Regions from separate parts of the Homo sapiens genome. Here regions 2, 3 and 4 are each linked to region 1. The links are contacts of gene promoters, found by promoter capture Hi-C in blood cells and fetal thymus (Javierre and others, 2016). All regions are on one chromosome and are shown on one strand. Each heading gives the region's core, a stretch centred on a gene start or on the middle of the fragment in contact. The rest is flanking DNA. Distances are from core to core; before and after follow the strand shown. Region 1 holds the start of INCA1 (inhibitor of CDK, cyclin A1 interacting protein 1). Region 2 has its middle 11 kb from the start of GGT6. Region 3 overlaps NUP88 (nucleoporin 88). Region 4 overlaps ARRB2 (arrestin beta 2).

Region 1 (3,367 bases), core at 1-2,500:
AAGGCTGAGGTGGGAGTGTCATCTGAGCCCGGGAGGTCAAGGCTGCAGTGAGGTAAGATCGCACCACTGCACTGCACTCCAGCCTAGGCGTCAGAGTGAGACCCTGTTTCTAAGAAGAAAAAAAAAAAAGCCAGGCGCGGTGGCTCAAGACTGTAATCCCAGCACTTTGGGAGGCTGAGGTGGGCGGATCACTTGAGGTCAGGAGTTCGAGACCAGCCTGGCCAACACAGCGAAACCCAGTCTCTACTAAAAATACAAAAATTAGCCGGGTGTGGTGGCAGGCATCTGTAATCCCAGCTATTCGGGAGGCTGAGGCAGGAGAATCGCTTGAACCCAGGAGGCGGAGGTTGCCGTGAGCCGAGGTCAGCCTGGGCAACAGAGCAAGACTCCGTCTCAAAAAAAAAAAAAAAAAAAAAAAAAGAATACTAGATAAGTTAGGAGAGAGTGCACATAGGCTCCCGAAGGACAGAAGCAGCCAGCTGGAACTGTAGAGGTGAACTAGTATTTATCCAAGGGAACTAGGGATGGGCTGGGAAAGCAGGTGAGGTCAAAAGCGGAGAGAAGTATACCGTGCGGAAGCGGCAGATGGGGCTAGTTGGAGTTGGGCTGAAAGGGCCTAAAGTGGGGTCTAAAGGGGATGTCCTGACTCGGAGGGGGGTCAGCAGAACGCGAGGGAGCAGCGGGAGCTGCGGGGCATTCGGGCCTCAGATAGTTGGGTCCAAGCGGGTGACCTAGATCCAAGGGCAGGATGGAGCTGAAGGAAGCCAGGAAGGATCCTCCACAGTTGACTTCGGGGTAGCCACGGCCTGCGCCTGCGAGGGTGGATGAGGACCCGAGGGTCCGGCTGGGGCTGAGGGGCTGCCTGGAGCCCCGCTGGAGGGAAGCGCCGGGCCGGAGGGCGCGGCCTGCGCCTGAAAGGGCGACGGGGACCCTCGACAGGTGGACCGGGCGTGGCCGGACCTTCCGGGCAGCCCCGCCCGAGGGCACGACTGGGGGCTGCTTCCCTCGAGAGGGGCCCTGAGGTGGTGGGCCCAGGCTGAAGGGCAGGCTGGGGCCTGAGGGACGCCCCGGGTCTGAGAGGGCAGCTCCGGCCTTAGGCGGCACCCGGGCCTGAAGGGGTTGTTTGGGCCTCAGGCGGCGTCCAGGGCGGCCGAACTTGAGGGCCAGGCGGGGACAGAGCGCCCGAGTAGCCGCGCCACGGCCGGCCGCATTTGGCCCCAGCACCTGAAGCAGCTGCGCGGCGAATTCTAGAACTCGGCGGGGCGGGGAGGAGAGAGACGGCGATTCGAGCCGCGGGAGGAGCCGGCGGGCGGTGCTCGTCTGAGGGCGGGGCCTGAGCGGAGCCACCTTCTGGGCGGGCCTCGGCAGGAGGCTCCGCCCCCTGGACGCGCCTCCAACGGCGGCGACGGGAACTGGGCCGGGGCCTGGGTGCCCCCGCGGGTCAGCCCCCGACGTTTCCCTGTTCTTCAGGCGTCTGCAACCCTCCTGGGTTGCGGCGTCTGCTCGCCCTTCTGCGTCCGCAGCTCGGTCCCCACGTTCCCGCTCGCTGGGCCCCACAGGCCAGGAGCGTTGCCCCTTTAACAAGAGTAGCCCGGGTCGCTCCCGGCTCCTTCCCGGGACCGCGCGTACCCGCCCCTCCGCGCGCGCTCGCGCGTCCCCCGCCCCTCGCTCCCGCCCCAGCTCGCGCTGCCCGGGCGGGCGCCGGCCGCTGGCGCCGCTACTGCTGCCGCCCCCGGGGCGCGAGTCCGCCGCCCGCCGCCCGGGCACCCGGCGAGGGGCGGGGGCAGCTCCGAACCGGCCCCAGATCCTTCCCGCTTCCGCCTCACGCTTCCCGGAAAGCTTGTCCCTCTCCGCCGAGCTGCTCCGGGAGCCCCGCCGCGCCGAGGTGAGGGCTGGGGAAGGGGGAGGGAAGGGACGCCCGCGGAGGAATGTGCCGGGTTGGGGGGCGGGGAGCCGGGGTCCGGCGGCGCGATCTAGGCTCAAGAGTCGGGATCATGTGCTGTTTGTTCCGCGGAGGCGCAGAGAGGTGCCAGGCCCGGGCGGCCGCCGGCTGGCTGGACAGGAGGACGGGTCCGCATGGCCGCCCTGAGAGGCCGGGCGGGGACCTGTGTGAGAACCGCCGGGTGGGCAAGGTGCAGGTGGCCCAAGACCCCCTTTCGGGCCGGTCGGCCCCACCCCAGCCGCCCAGTATCCTCCTTGTACCCCACGGCTCCTTCACAGCTGCACCGGCCGACCCCTGTCCCTACCTCTATTCCCTTACCCCGCTGGCCCCCAGCCGTGCCACCCCATCCCTGTCCCATTAGCTGCAGCAACGGCGTCACCATCGCTTGTCCCCACCAGTGTCCTTCCCTCCCCTGGTCAGGGTCTAGGGGGTCAGGGCTGTTCTTCCTGAGCCAGCTTCTGTGATTCCAGCTACTCCCTTCCTGTCCTGGGACAGACCAGCCCCTCACCCTCCCATGCTCTGCCCAGGAAGACTGGTGAGGGGAGGCCCAGCGTGACAGGAGTTTGGGGTCCACTGGGGCCACAGGAGGGGGCTCCGCATCCCTTATCCTTCGTGGTCCTCCTCCCTGTTGTCCGTGGGCGTGGGCTGCTCAGCCTCTCCTCCCAGGGTGTGGGCACCCGATCACCCACATTCCTGGGCTCCAGCCTGGCACCTTCCCCAGGGCAGTGGACGCCATAGCACTAGCCCCAGGTTGGGGCTGGCACCAGCCAGCCGGCTTCCTTTTCTTTCTCCCTTTTAGGGAGGCCCCAGGGACCCTCTACCCTCAAACACAGGTATTTCTGGGCGCCCCAAGGGTGGAGCCCTGAGGGTTGGTCTGATGGCTACAGGATGACCCCACCCTCCCCTGCTCATTGTCCCGGATCCTGAGGAGGAAGTGCTGGGGGCTGGGCAAGGGGCTTAGAGCCCACACAGCTGGCCCTGTGGATCCCAGTCCTGGGCCCTACCTACAGTCCTTGGACTTTGCCCATCTGCACTACTGGCCTGGTGCATGGAGGTTGTGGGCCTCAGGTGGAAACTAGATTCTCCCTTGCCGACACTGTGGGGGAATTTGAGGACAGGTTTTGCATTTGCAGTTTCCTCTCTGGTCTCTCTTCTGGGCTCCCAGTTTGTGCTTTGGCGCCGGAGTTCCCCACCCTGTCTCTTTAACACCGTGTGTTTGCTGTGCTGTGTCTCTTCCTCCTTTCCTCTCCCATTCTTTCCTTCATAGCATGACCTCAGGCTTGCCTTTTGTCTTATTTCTCTAATTTTCTTGGTGTCTGTGACTCTCTGCCCCTCCTCTCTCTCTTCCCACCCCCCTCACGTCTCTGCCCATGTGCCCCTCTCTCTGAATTGCCCTCTGTCCAGCCTCTTTCTCTCTCTGTCCTC
Region 2 (3,367 bases), core at 514-3,013, 430 kb before region 1:
ACTTGTTGTTTAATGTGTGTGGGGTTCCGTCTGGGATGAGTAGCTTCTGTGGATGGCTGCGCAACAGCATGAGCATATTTGGGGCCACTGAAATGATTGTAAATTGGTTAAAATGGTAAATTGTGTGTTATGTATATTGTATCATGATGAAAAAATGCAAAAAAAAAGTATAAGCCAAAAAAACCCAAAACACCCCACAGCCCCTCCCCCAAATGTAAAAGTCCATTTAAAGTTAAAAACTTCTCCCTTGCACCTTCTCAGTCTGTTTTGGGCAAGTAGCATGCAACAGGAAAAGGCTGTGTGTGTGTGTGTGTATGTGTGTGTGTGTGTATGAAAGGGTATGGTGAAGAGGGAGAGACTCTAATTAACTTCTCAATGTACCCTCCAACCCCCACCTGCTCCTACACCCTGGGATTCTCCTCCTCACTCACTTGGCTGCTTTTGTACCCCCAGGGTTGACATGGCGGGGGAAGAGGTAAAAAGGGGCAGGAAAGATCTGATTTTGTATTGTACGAGCTGGTACAGAAGCTTCCTGGGCTTTGTATACAGCTGACTTTTTATCTATTGGGACACTTTTTAAAGTCCTTCCAAGACCTCCAGCCGACCCCATTATTGGGGTCTCACCTCCAATTCCCCGGGTATAGCTGAACTCTTCTTGGCTCACAAGCAGCTCAGGCATCAGTTTCTTGCTGCTGGGGCCGCATCTTTCTCTCCAGGTGGTGTTCCTGGGCAGGTTTTATTCTTTTTTTGTTTTGTTTTGTTTTTTTAAATAACTCTTGCTCAAGGTTGGGCAGGTTTTAATGTGGCCTGATGCTGGTTCTCCCTCCCTCATAGCTCACATCTGGTCCATAGGAAACAATCACACATCCTTTTCCTACAAGAGATTTTAGGGGTACCAGTTTCCAGTGCAGCCAACTCTCTTCAAGATGTGATCAAAACCACTATCAGCCAGCACATCTCTCATGCACTGAATTTAAAAACTTTTTTTTGTAGAGATGGGGTCTTGTCATGTTCACCAGGCTGGTTTTGAACTCCTAGGCTTGAGCAATCTTCCCACTTCGGCCTCCCAAAATGCTGGGATTATAGGCATAGCCACTGCTCCAGGACTTGGATTTTAAAAATCCGATTTATTGAGGTATTTATATATATATATATATATATATTTTTTTTTTTTTTTGAGACGGGGTCTTGCTCTGTCACCCAGTCTGGAGTGCAGTGGCACAATCTCGGCTCACTGCAACCTTCGCCTCCCGGGTTCAAGCAATTCTCCTGCCTCAGCCTCACAAGTAGCTGGGACTACAGGCGCCCACCGCCAAGCCCAGCTAATTTTTGTATTTTTAGTAGAGACAGGGTTTCACCATATTGGCCAGGCTGGTCTCGAGCTCCTGACCTCGTGATCCACCCACCTCAGCCTCCCAAAGTGCTGGGATTACAGGCATGAGCCACCGCGCCCAGCTGAGGTATAATTTACATAAAGTAAAAGTCACCAATTTTTGTGTATATTGCCAGCAACTGACACCACAATTAAGACAACAAAGGAACCGATTGCTCCCGCAGCCAACACTATAGTTCACCATGGAGGACCCCGTGGATAGTTCCAAGCCTCCCTCTGCATGACCATTTCCTGGGCGGAAGTCCTTTGAGCTAAGTGGGAAATTTGGGCAGTACCCAACCTATGTAGATGAACCACATCCTGGCACTGGGGAAGTGGAAAATTTAGAGCACCCAAATTGATGCTCGATCCAACCCATTGATCACACCTCATCCCATCACAGCAAGTTAGGTGTTTCTCTGCTTTTTGTCTGAGGTGTTAACGTGAGAATCTCTTATCTGTAGGACTCTCCAGGGAGTTGTATCTTATGATTCCAGTAGTGGAAAGAACAAAATCAAAACACTGTATGGCGAAATCCTCAACGGGAAGGACCTGGAATTCACATCCTTCGAGATATCATCTGTACCTCAGCACTGTTGTGACCCGGTGGGCAACATAGTAGCAGGGTCGAGGGACAAAATGCATGCTAATAGTCTCTAGGCTCAAAAATGATTCAAGACCCTGATGGTGTCTCTCCAACGACCAACACACAGGGATGGTGCCAACCTGTCACTCAATGACAACGCAGGGCTGGTGACTAACTGGTTTAATTCGAGACCGTGGGTCGGACCACTTGTCTGTGCTTTGATAATGGAGAATTTGAGTCCCTGGAAAAAGCTACTCGACCAGGTTAGACTAGTGGCTGGTAGAGTGCGAATGACAACATGCTATACCATCAAGATGTTCCTGGATCAGTGTACTGACCGATCTATTGCACTACTGTCAGTTGTAACCAAGATTGTTGTATTCGAGGAGAAAGACACTTGCCTGGAAAACACACGGAAAGTTTTTTGAGTATGGGGGAGCCCTGCACCACCCCATTATGATTTGAGGTCTCTCCTCGGATGCTCCCAAATCTGGCAACGGCGGCAAACTATTGGGCTGAAAGACTCAATCCAGTGTATTCTGGATTTAAGGCTCATGACATAATGCCCGGAGCGAATATCACACTTCCACTTACTCAGATGGCTGCCTCTCACTGAGTGTCAAGAGGAACAGGGACGGGCATATGGTCACTCCAGCTTTGAACATCCTAAAGAATTATGGGGTAACAGGCTACAAATGAATACGGTCAGTTCCCTATTAAAAAAAAAAAAGCCGCTCCTCAGACCTCAGCAGCCAAGATGGTGAAGGAGATCGAGAGCAAACTTGCTTTTTAGGAAGCCTTGGATGCCACAGGCGATAAACTTGTAATAGTTGACTTCTCGGCCACGTGGTGTGGGCCTTGCAAAATGATCAAGCCTTTCTTTATCCCCTCTCTGGAAAGTATTCCAGCGTGGTATTCCTTGAAGTAGATGTGGATGACTGTCAGGATGTTGCTTCAGAGTGTGAAGCCGAATGCATGCCAACATTCCAGTGTTTTAAGAAGGGACAAAAGGTGGGTGAATTTTCTGGAGCCCATAAGGAAAAGCTTGAAGCCACCATTCATGAATTAGTCTAATCGTGTTTTCTGAAAACATAACCAGCCATTGGCTATTTAAAACTTGTAATTTTTTTAATTTACAAAAAAATATAAAGCATGAAGACTATAAACTCAAATACCATCTGGGTGACAATAAAACATTATTTCTAACACTTTAAAAAAAGACAAAGACCATTTCCAACAACCAAGCATTTTCCTAGTACCCCTTTGCTCCACCCCTCACCTCTGCTCCTTGACAACCACTCATCTGATTTTGATCCCTATATGTTGCTGTTTACCTAAGAAATCATGTTTTGAGGACTTATATATTGTAAATGGAATCATACCAGATGTACTTGTTCATATCTGGCTTC
Region 3 (3,367 bases), core at 646-3,145, 410 kb after region 1:
TACTATACCATGTGATAAGTGCAACAACAGAAGGATTTATGGTGTACAAAGGAATGACAAAAAGATACAAAGATAATGAAGAAAGCTATAAAAAATAAATGAGAAAAATGAGAAAGAATGATTTCTGGGAAGGGGATTGTTGAGCATTCCAAGCTAGAGATCAGTTTATGCAAAGTCCTGGAAACATGAAAGACAAAGAACTAAGAACAAGAAAACTTATTTAGTATGATGGGAGGCAAAGTACAAGGTGGAAGGCAACGGCAAAATAGCTAGACAGACATCCAGGACTGGCTTATGAAGTACACAGTCTTGTGTGCTATGTTAAACTATTTGAAATCTATCTGCCGGGTAACAGTATATCACTAGAGGTTTAAATCAAGCGATGGAGCCTCACTTTACAAATCAGTCTGGTATTAGGGAGGAAGACATGGAAGGGTCCAAAATGGGATTTGGGGAAACTATTTAAGAAAATAAGCCAGGCAGATGGTGAAGTAGGCAGATGATGCAGTTCTGAAGCAGGGACAGAGGAATGCAGAGAAGGGTGTATAATCAGGGGTGTCCAATCTTTTGGCTTCCCTGGGCCACACTGGAACAATTGTTTTGGGCCACACAGAAAATACACTAACAATACGTGATGAGCTTTAAAAAAAAAAGAAAAGAAAAGAAAATCGCAAACAAATATCATAATGTTCTAAGAAAGTTTACAAATTTGCGTTGGGCTGCATTCAAGGCTGTCCTGGGCTGCGCGCAGCCCGTGGGTTGGACAAGCTTGGTGTATACTTTCGAAAAATTTAAATCACAAAATCAATAGAAATTTGGGACTGATGAAATGTAAGGATGAAGAAAACTTTTGGGTTTTGGGCTAACGTTACTAGGCAGATCATGGTTTGGACAAATGAGGGCTCAGCAGCAAGAGGAGAAAGGGTAAGGGAAGGTACTAAAGTTACCACAAAATCCTCCTGAGATCATGTGTGAAAGGCAGAGAACATTTCTGCCAAGGAGAATGCACTCAACAGTGAATCCTCACCATTCTGTAACCTACCGAGCTCTTTCATCTTTCTAATCTTTATGGTTTTGCGTACTCTCTTCTCTCTCCTGTACCCACTTCTGATTCTGTCTAGTGAATCCTTCAAGTTCAAGCTTTTGTAATAGCATTTCCTTAAAGTCTTCCAAGATGAGCAGGCCTACTCATTTACTCCATCACACTCCTGAAGAACCCGGTGATGCCCTGAGCACATGACACTGTACTATAGTTACTGGTTTAGTTGTATGCCCTTCTGGTAGTTAAGGAACCACATGGCAGGAACCTTGCCTTCAATCTTGTATTTCCATCTTCTGCCAGAGTGGGTCCTGAATAAGTATCTGTTAAGTCGATTTACAAGCGAATAAACTCTAATGCTCAGCCCTTAGCCTTATGCCTCTGCAGTTTTCCCTCAAATTCTTATCCTGTATAGACTCTCTCACCATGAAAGATGATTCTCATACCTCTATTTTAATTCTTCTTGTCTGTCATCATCCTGTATTTCCAACTGTCCATGGAATATTTCCATTTTATTGGTCCAATACTATCTTACACTGATTTACTTAGAAATAAATCTTCTCCCCCAATTAGCAGCCTTTACTGACCTGTTTCTGTTCATGGCATACTCCCTTATCCAAACAGTAACTAAGTCTTATTTATCCTTCCTTTGTTGTTATCTACTGTGTTTCATTTTTCCCTCTGTTCTATTACCACCCAAGTTCAAACTCTCATAAATGACAAGCTCAATTTTGCAAAAGCTTCTTTAAAAGTCTCTGTCCCAGTCCCCTCCCTAACCAATTGTTTTGTCCTTCTGTTCAGAAACCATCACTGGCTTCCTACTACCCTATTCCTACAGAAAAAAAACCCACACTCACTCTTTTAACGAGGTATTTTTAATTCCAGCAAATTTTCTCGGGACAGATACTCCAGCTTTATCACTTAATGCTCCCTACATGAATCCTCAGCTCTAGCCCAGAATGTCTAATAAATTAAGCTTGAATGACACTTGCACTTGCTTATTTTCAGACGCTACTTTATGCTGCCCTTGACAGAAATGGTCTCACTCTTCCTTGATACTTCATTTAATCCTGAATGAGACCTTTAAGTCACACATGACACCACTCCTTCTCTACGAAAATTTCCTTAACCTCCCAGTCAGAATGATCTCTCCTTCCTCGGGGTTCTTACTGTCTGTGTACCAATACTGTGGTATGGATAGTATTTTTTCATGTGTATGTATCTTTCTCCCCACAACTGGGACATAAGATACCAGATTACCACGCCTACGTGGTGTCTTGTTCATATAAGATAAACAATAAGCACTTGTTCGGATAACTAGAATTTGTGAACACAAATCCAGGCCTATCATAAGTGATTATCCAAGAATTCTATAGAACTTACCCAAATAATATGAAGAAATGAAAGGCCAAATGACCTGTACTAACTCTTTCTCAAAAATATGCAAGCCAAGCATGTGAAGGCTGCAACATTTCCACAGACTCAAAAACATGGCTCCCAAGTCCAGCCTCAATGATATCTACTGGAGCCCAAACTGAGTTTTCATTTCAGGTGGGTGACCACCTCAACTTACCTGTGTAACAGACTGATGTATGTCAGGAAAGTCTCTCCATTTTCATATAAGATGTACAGTGGGTATGCCACTACTTCATCTTTGCCGTTTTGTCCAAATAGAGTCTTTGGGACTGCTGCCAATGGCCCAAAGTCAAATGCAACTGCTGTCTCTCCTAGAGATGCGGTATACGCCCTTCTGGAAAGAGATGTAAAAACCAACTTGTTAAAAACAAAAACAACAAAAAGTAAAAAGAAAAACAAAACAAAACAAAAACACAAAATGTCTAATAACAGGAGGTGGGTATGTATGGAATTTGTAGGCAATGGACTGAAAAGACAAAAAATGATTATGAAGAATGTTAACATTTAAAAATTCTCAGCTGGGTGCAGTGGCTCATGCCTGTAATCCCAGCAATTTGGGAGGCCGAGGTGGGTGGATCACCTGAGGTCAGGAGTTCGAGACCAGCCTGGCCAACATGGTGAAACCCCGTTTCTACTAAAAATACAAAAATTAGTTGGGCGTGGTGGCAGGTGCCTGTAGTCCCAGCTACTTGGGAGGCTAAGGCAGGAGAATTGCTTGAACCTGGGAGGCGGAGGTTGCAGTGAGCCGAGATTGTGCCATTGCACTCCAGCCTGGGCGACAAGAGCGAAACTCCGTCTCAAAAAAAAAAAAAAAAAAAAAATTCTCATGAAATTAAGTGAAAAAAGCTGGCCATAAAATTATTTGGTTCTACTCTCATCTTAAATAGTTTAAATACACAGATATACAAATAG
Region 4 (3,367 bases), core at 577-3,076, 280 kb before region 1:
GGGAATCCTGGTGTCCTACAGGGTCAAGGTGAAGCTGGTGGTGTCTCGAGGCGGGTGAGTGTCATGGGGGAGCCTGGGTGGGGGTCACACTGGCTCTCTCTAGTCCCATGTCGTCGTCCTCTTCACGATGCCTCTCCCCTTCCCCAGGGATGTCTCTGTGGAGCTGCCTTTTGTTCTTATGCACCCCAAGCCCCACGACCACATCCCCCTCCCCAGACCCCAGTCAGGTGAGCACACTACCCACCCCAAGCCCTCAGAGGGAGGGCCTGAAGCAGGGCCAGTGGAGGAAAACTGGCCCTTCCAGCACCCACCCCCACACCCCCTCTTCCCGTCCCCCCAGCCGCTCCGGAGACAGATGTCCCTGTGGACACCAACCTCATTGAATTTGATACCAAGTAAGAAACTCATTCCCCTACTTGACCCTCTTGGGACAAAGATTCCTATAACATTCAAATCTGCCCTCATACCTCTTCCTTGCTTTTGGTGGGGAGAAGCGGATTGTAGCATCAAATCAAGATGCCTTAGCCTTGTGAGGCTGCCTCTTGCTGCCTTTTCTTTGTCCCTTCCTGTAAATACCTCTGGTCCCACTGCTGTTCGAACGCCTCTGTCCCAGAGGCCTAGCTTCGGGGAGGGCAGGGAGTGGGAGGCTGGGACAAGAGTCAGAAGCCCTCACCTCACAACCCTCTTTCCCACCACCAAGCTATGCCACAGATGATGACATTGTGTTTGAGGACTTTGCCCGGCTTCGGCTGAAGGGGATGAAGGATGACGACTATGATGATCAACTCTGCTAGGAAGCGGGGTGGGAAGAAGGGAGGGGATGGGGTTGGGAGAGGTGAGGGCAGGATTAAGATCCCCACTGTCAATGGGGGATTGTCCCAGCCCCTCTTCCCTTCCCCTCACCTGGAAGCTTCTTCAACCAATCCCTTCACACTCTCTCCCCCATCCCCCCAAGATACACACTGGACCCTCTCTTGCTGAATGTGGGCATTAATTTTTTGACTGCAGCTCTGCTTCTCCAGCCCCGCCGTGGGTGGCAAGCTGTGTTCATACCTAAATTTTCTGGAAGGGGACAGTGAAAAGAGGAGTGACAGGAGGGAAAGGGGGAGACAAAACTCCTACTCTCAACCTCACACCAACACCTCCCATTATCACTCTCTCTGCCCCCATTCCTTCAAGAGGAGACCCTTTGGGGACAAGGCCGTTTCTTTGTTTCTGAGCATAAAGAAGAAAATAAATCTTTTACTAAGCATGAGTGTGTGTTTTCTCTGTAGTGTTTAGAGAGTGTATGGTGTGCTTATCCATGATTCTGTTAGCTTGTGGGGGAGGACCCAGTCTCTCTTCTGCACCCAAAAGCCACCTGACACGGAGGCTATCAGCAAATGTTTATTGGATGACTGTGCTGTGGCTGTGTTCCAGGGTAAACATCAAAACTTGACTTAGTCCAAACTCAAGGGTGAGGCTTGATAAGGCCACAAAGTGAACTTAGTCATTTCTAGAGGTCACAGTAACTAAACTAACTCGCCTGCACACAGATGCTCACGGGAGCTAGCCAGGGCAGGCCCTTCCCTGTTGCGGCCGACGCACATGACCACCTGTGACCTGTTGTGACCGAGTCGCGTTCATTTCCACTGCTCCTTATGGCTGCTCGAGCCATCTGCTCCTGTGGCTCAGCGGTGCCACAACCGCAGGCCTCACCAGACAAGCCACGTGACGTCTCTGGAGTCTGGTACCTACATTCTAACACAGAAGCTGAGGCTTGGGCAGCAAGAACGTCATGCTGCCGTGGGCCCCTGTCCTAGGGACCACATCTTAGTGCTGTTCATGGGATATTCATCAGGGACTCCCTGAGGCTTGACCGAAGCCCCAGGCTGGGCTGGAGGGAGGTAGCATCACTCCACGAACATTTCTCACCTCCATCATCTGCTTCCACTCCTGAAGCCCAATCTTTCTCCTAAAGCTCCTTCATGCATTCCACAAACAATCTGGATTTGAGTCCCTACAAAGTACCAGGCATAGTATAGCAGTACAACAACAACAACAACAACAAAAACACATTAATTCATTCCCTTTTTTTTTTTTTTCTTTTGAGACAGAGTCTTGCTCTGTCGTCCAGGCTGGAGTGCAATGGTGCCATCTCGGCTCACTGTAACCTCCGCCTCCCAGGTACAAGTGATTCTCCTGCCTCAGCCTCCGGAGTAGCTGGGATTACAGGCGCCCGCCACAACTCCCGGCTAATTTTTGTATTTTTAGTGGAGATGGGGTTTCGCCATGTTGGTCAGGCTGTTCTCAAACTCCTCACCTCAAGTGGTCCACCCGCCTCGGCCTCCCAAAGTGCTGGGATTACAGGTGTGAGCCACCGCGCCAGGCCTCCCTAGTTATTTAACTACAATATCTTTGCTTCAGAGGAGAAGTACTGGAGCCAGGAGAACGCGTGACAGGGAGTTCTGAGCTAGGTTGGGTTTGGGGAAGATTTCCCTGAGAAAGTGACCTTTAAGCAGAGAAGTGAAAGATGAGGGGAGTTCGGGGACCGTCCAGGGATGAGCATTCTGGGCAATGGCAGTGTCGTGTGAAGGCAGGAGGAAACAACACATCTGGGACCTAAAGAGGCCAGAGAGACTGGGACAGAGACAGCCAGAGGCAAAGTAGTTCCTTCTGGCTGCTGAGCCAGATGGGGACAGCTCGCACAGGCCTTTAGTCTATGTTATGACTCGTGACTTCTAGTTAAATCGCCATTTACCCACAAGCTTTAAGTACTGCCAAAAGGCCCGTGACCTTGCTTACCCCGCCACGGCGGCAGCCTCCCCTGCAGAACCTGGACTTTCTCATGCGGAAGAACGGAAGAACCATCCCGCCTAATACCATCTCCAGCATCCCTCCGACTCCCGTGCACCTGCTCCTTGACCTCTAAGCCCAGGTATCTCAATTTTTTTTTTTTTTTTTTTGAGATGGAGTCTTGCTTTCTCACCCAGGCTGGAATGCAATGGTGCTATCTTGGCTCACTGCAACCTCTGCCTCCCAGGTTCAAGCAATTCTTCTGCCTCAGCTTCCCGAGTAACTGGGACTACAGGCACACGCCACCACGCCTGGCTAATTTTTGTATTTTTAGTAAAGACAAGGTTTCGCCATACTGGCCAGGCTGGTCTCGAACTCCTGACCTCCTGATCCGCCCACCTTGGCCCCCCAAAGTGCTGGGATTACAGGCGTGAGCCACCGCGCCTGGCCGATCTCAAATTTTTTTCAGGAGAATCAGAACCCTCGGGGTGCCATGGTAAAAATCCAGAGTTGGGCTCCACCTTTCCCGATTCTGAGTCACAAGGTCCCAAGAAGAATCCAAAAATCCGGATTTTTAATTAGTACACACTTT

What was found. Contacts are between HindIII fragments. The CHiCAGO score rates a contact against its expected background, and 5 or more counts as called.
Region 2: a contact is called between a fragment that was not itself captured here and the fragment with the promoter of INCA1 in region 1, in 1 of 17 cell types (neutrophils). The highest score is 6.6, in neutrophils.
Region 3: a fragment that was not itself captured here is called in contact with the fragment with the promoter of INCA1 in region 1 in 1 of 17 cell types (naive B cells); the score reaches 5.2 in naive B cells.
Region 4: a contact is called between a fragment that was not itself captured here and the fragment with the promoter of INCA1 in region 1, in 3 of 17 cell types (neutrophils, erythroblasts and M0 macrophages). The highest score is 5.6, in neutrophils.

The regions. Positions count from the first base shown.
Region 1 is chr17:4,996,272-4,999,638 of GRCh38, forward strand. It overlaps INCA1 (inhibitor of CDK, cyclin A1 interacting protein 1), which reads right to left and starts at 1,251. Exons shown (of 7, transcript NM_001394789.1): 1 at 1,225-1,251. It overlaps KIF1C (kinesin family member 1C), which reads left to right and starts at 1,679. Exons shown (of 23, transcript NM_006612.6): 1 at 1,679-1,885. RefSeq lists silencers at 992-1,081, 1,122-1,991, 2,042-2,141. The HindIII fragment of the contact is 6,815 bases long and covers 1-1,837 here.
Region 2 is chr17:4,569,491-4,572,857 of GRCh38, forward strand. It overlaps the pseudogene TXNP4. Among named protein-coding and RNA genes, the nearest start is that of GGT6, 11 kb to the left of the region's middle. The HindIII fragment of the contact is 2,474 bases long and covers 527-3,000 here.
Region 3 is chr17:5,406,121-5,409,487 of GRCh38, forward strand. It overlaps NUP88 (nucleoporin 88), which reads right to left. Exons shown (of 17, transcript NM_002532.6): 5 at 2,613-2,789. Among named protein-coding and RNA genes, the nearest start is that of NUP88, 12 kb to the right of the region's middle. The HindIII fragment of the contact is 236 bases long and covers 1,778-2,013 here.
Region 4 is chr17:4,720,246-4,723,612 of GRCh38, forward strand. ARRB2 (arrestin beta 2) reads left to right here. Exons shown (of 15, transcript NM_004313.4): 12 at 1-54; 13 at 148-227; 14 at 341-395; 15 at 701-1,252. The coding sequence ends at 794. Among named protein-coding and RNA genes, the nearest start is that of MED11, 9.5 kb to the right of the region's middle. The HindIII fragment of the contact is 1,837 bases long and covers 909-2,745 here.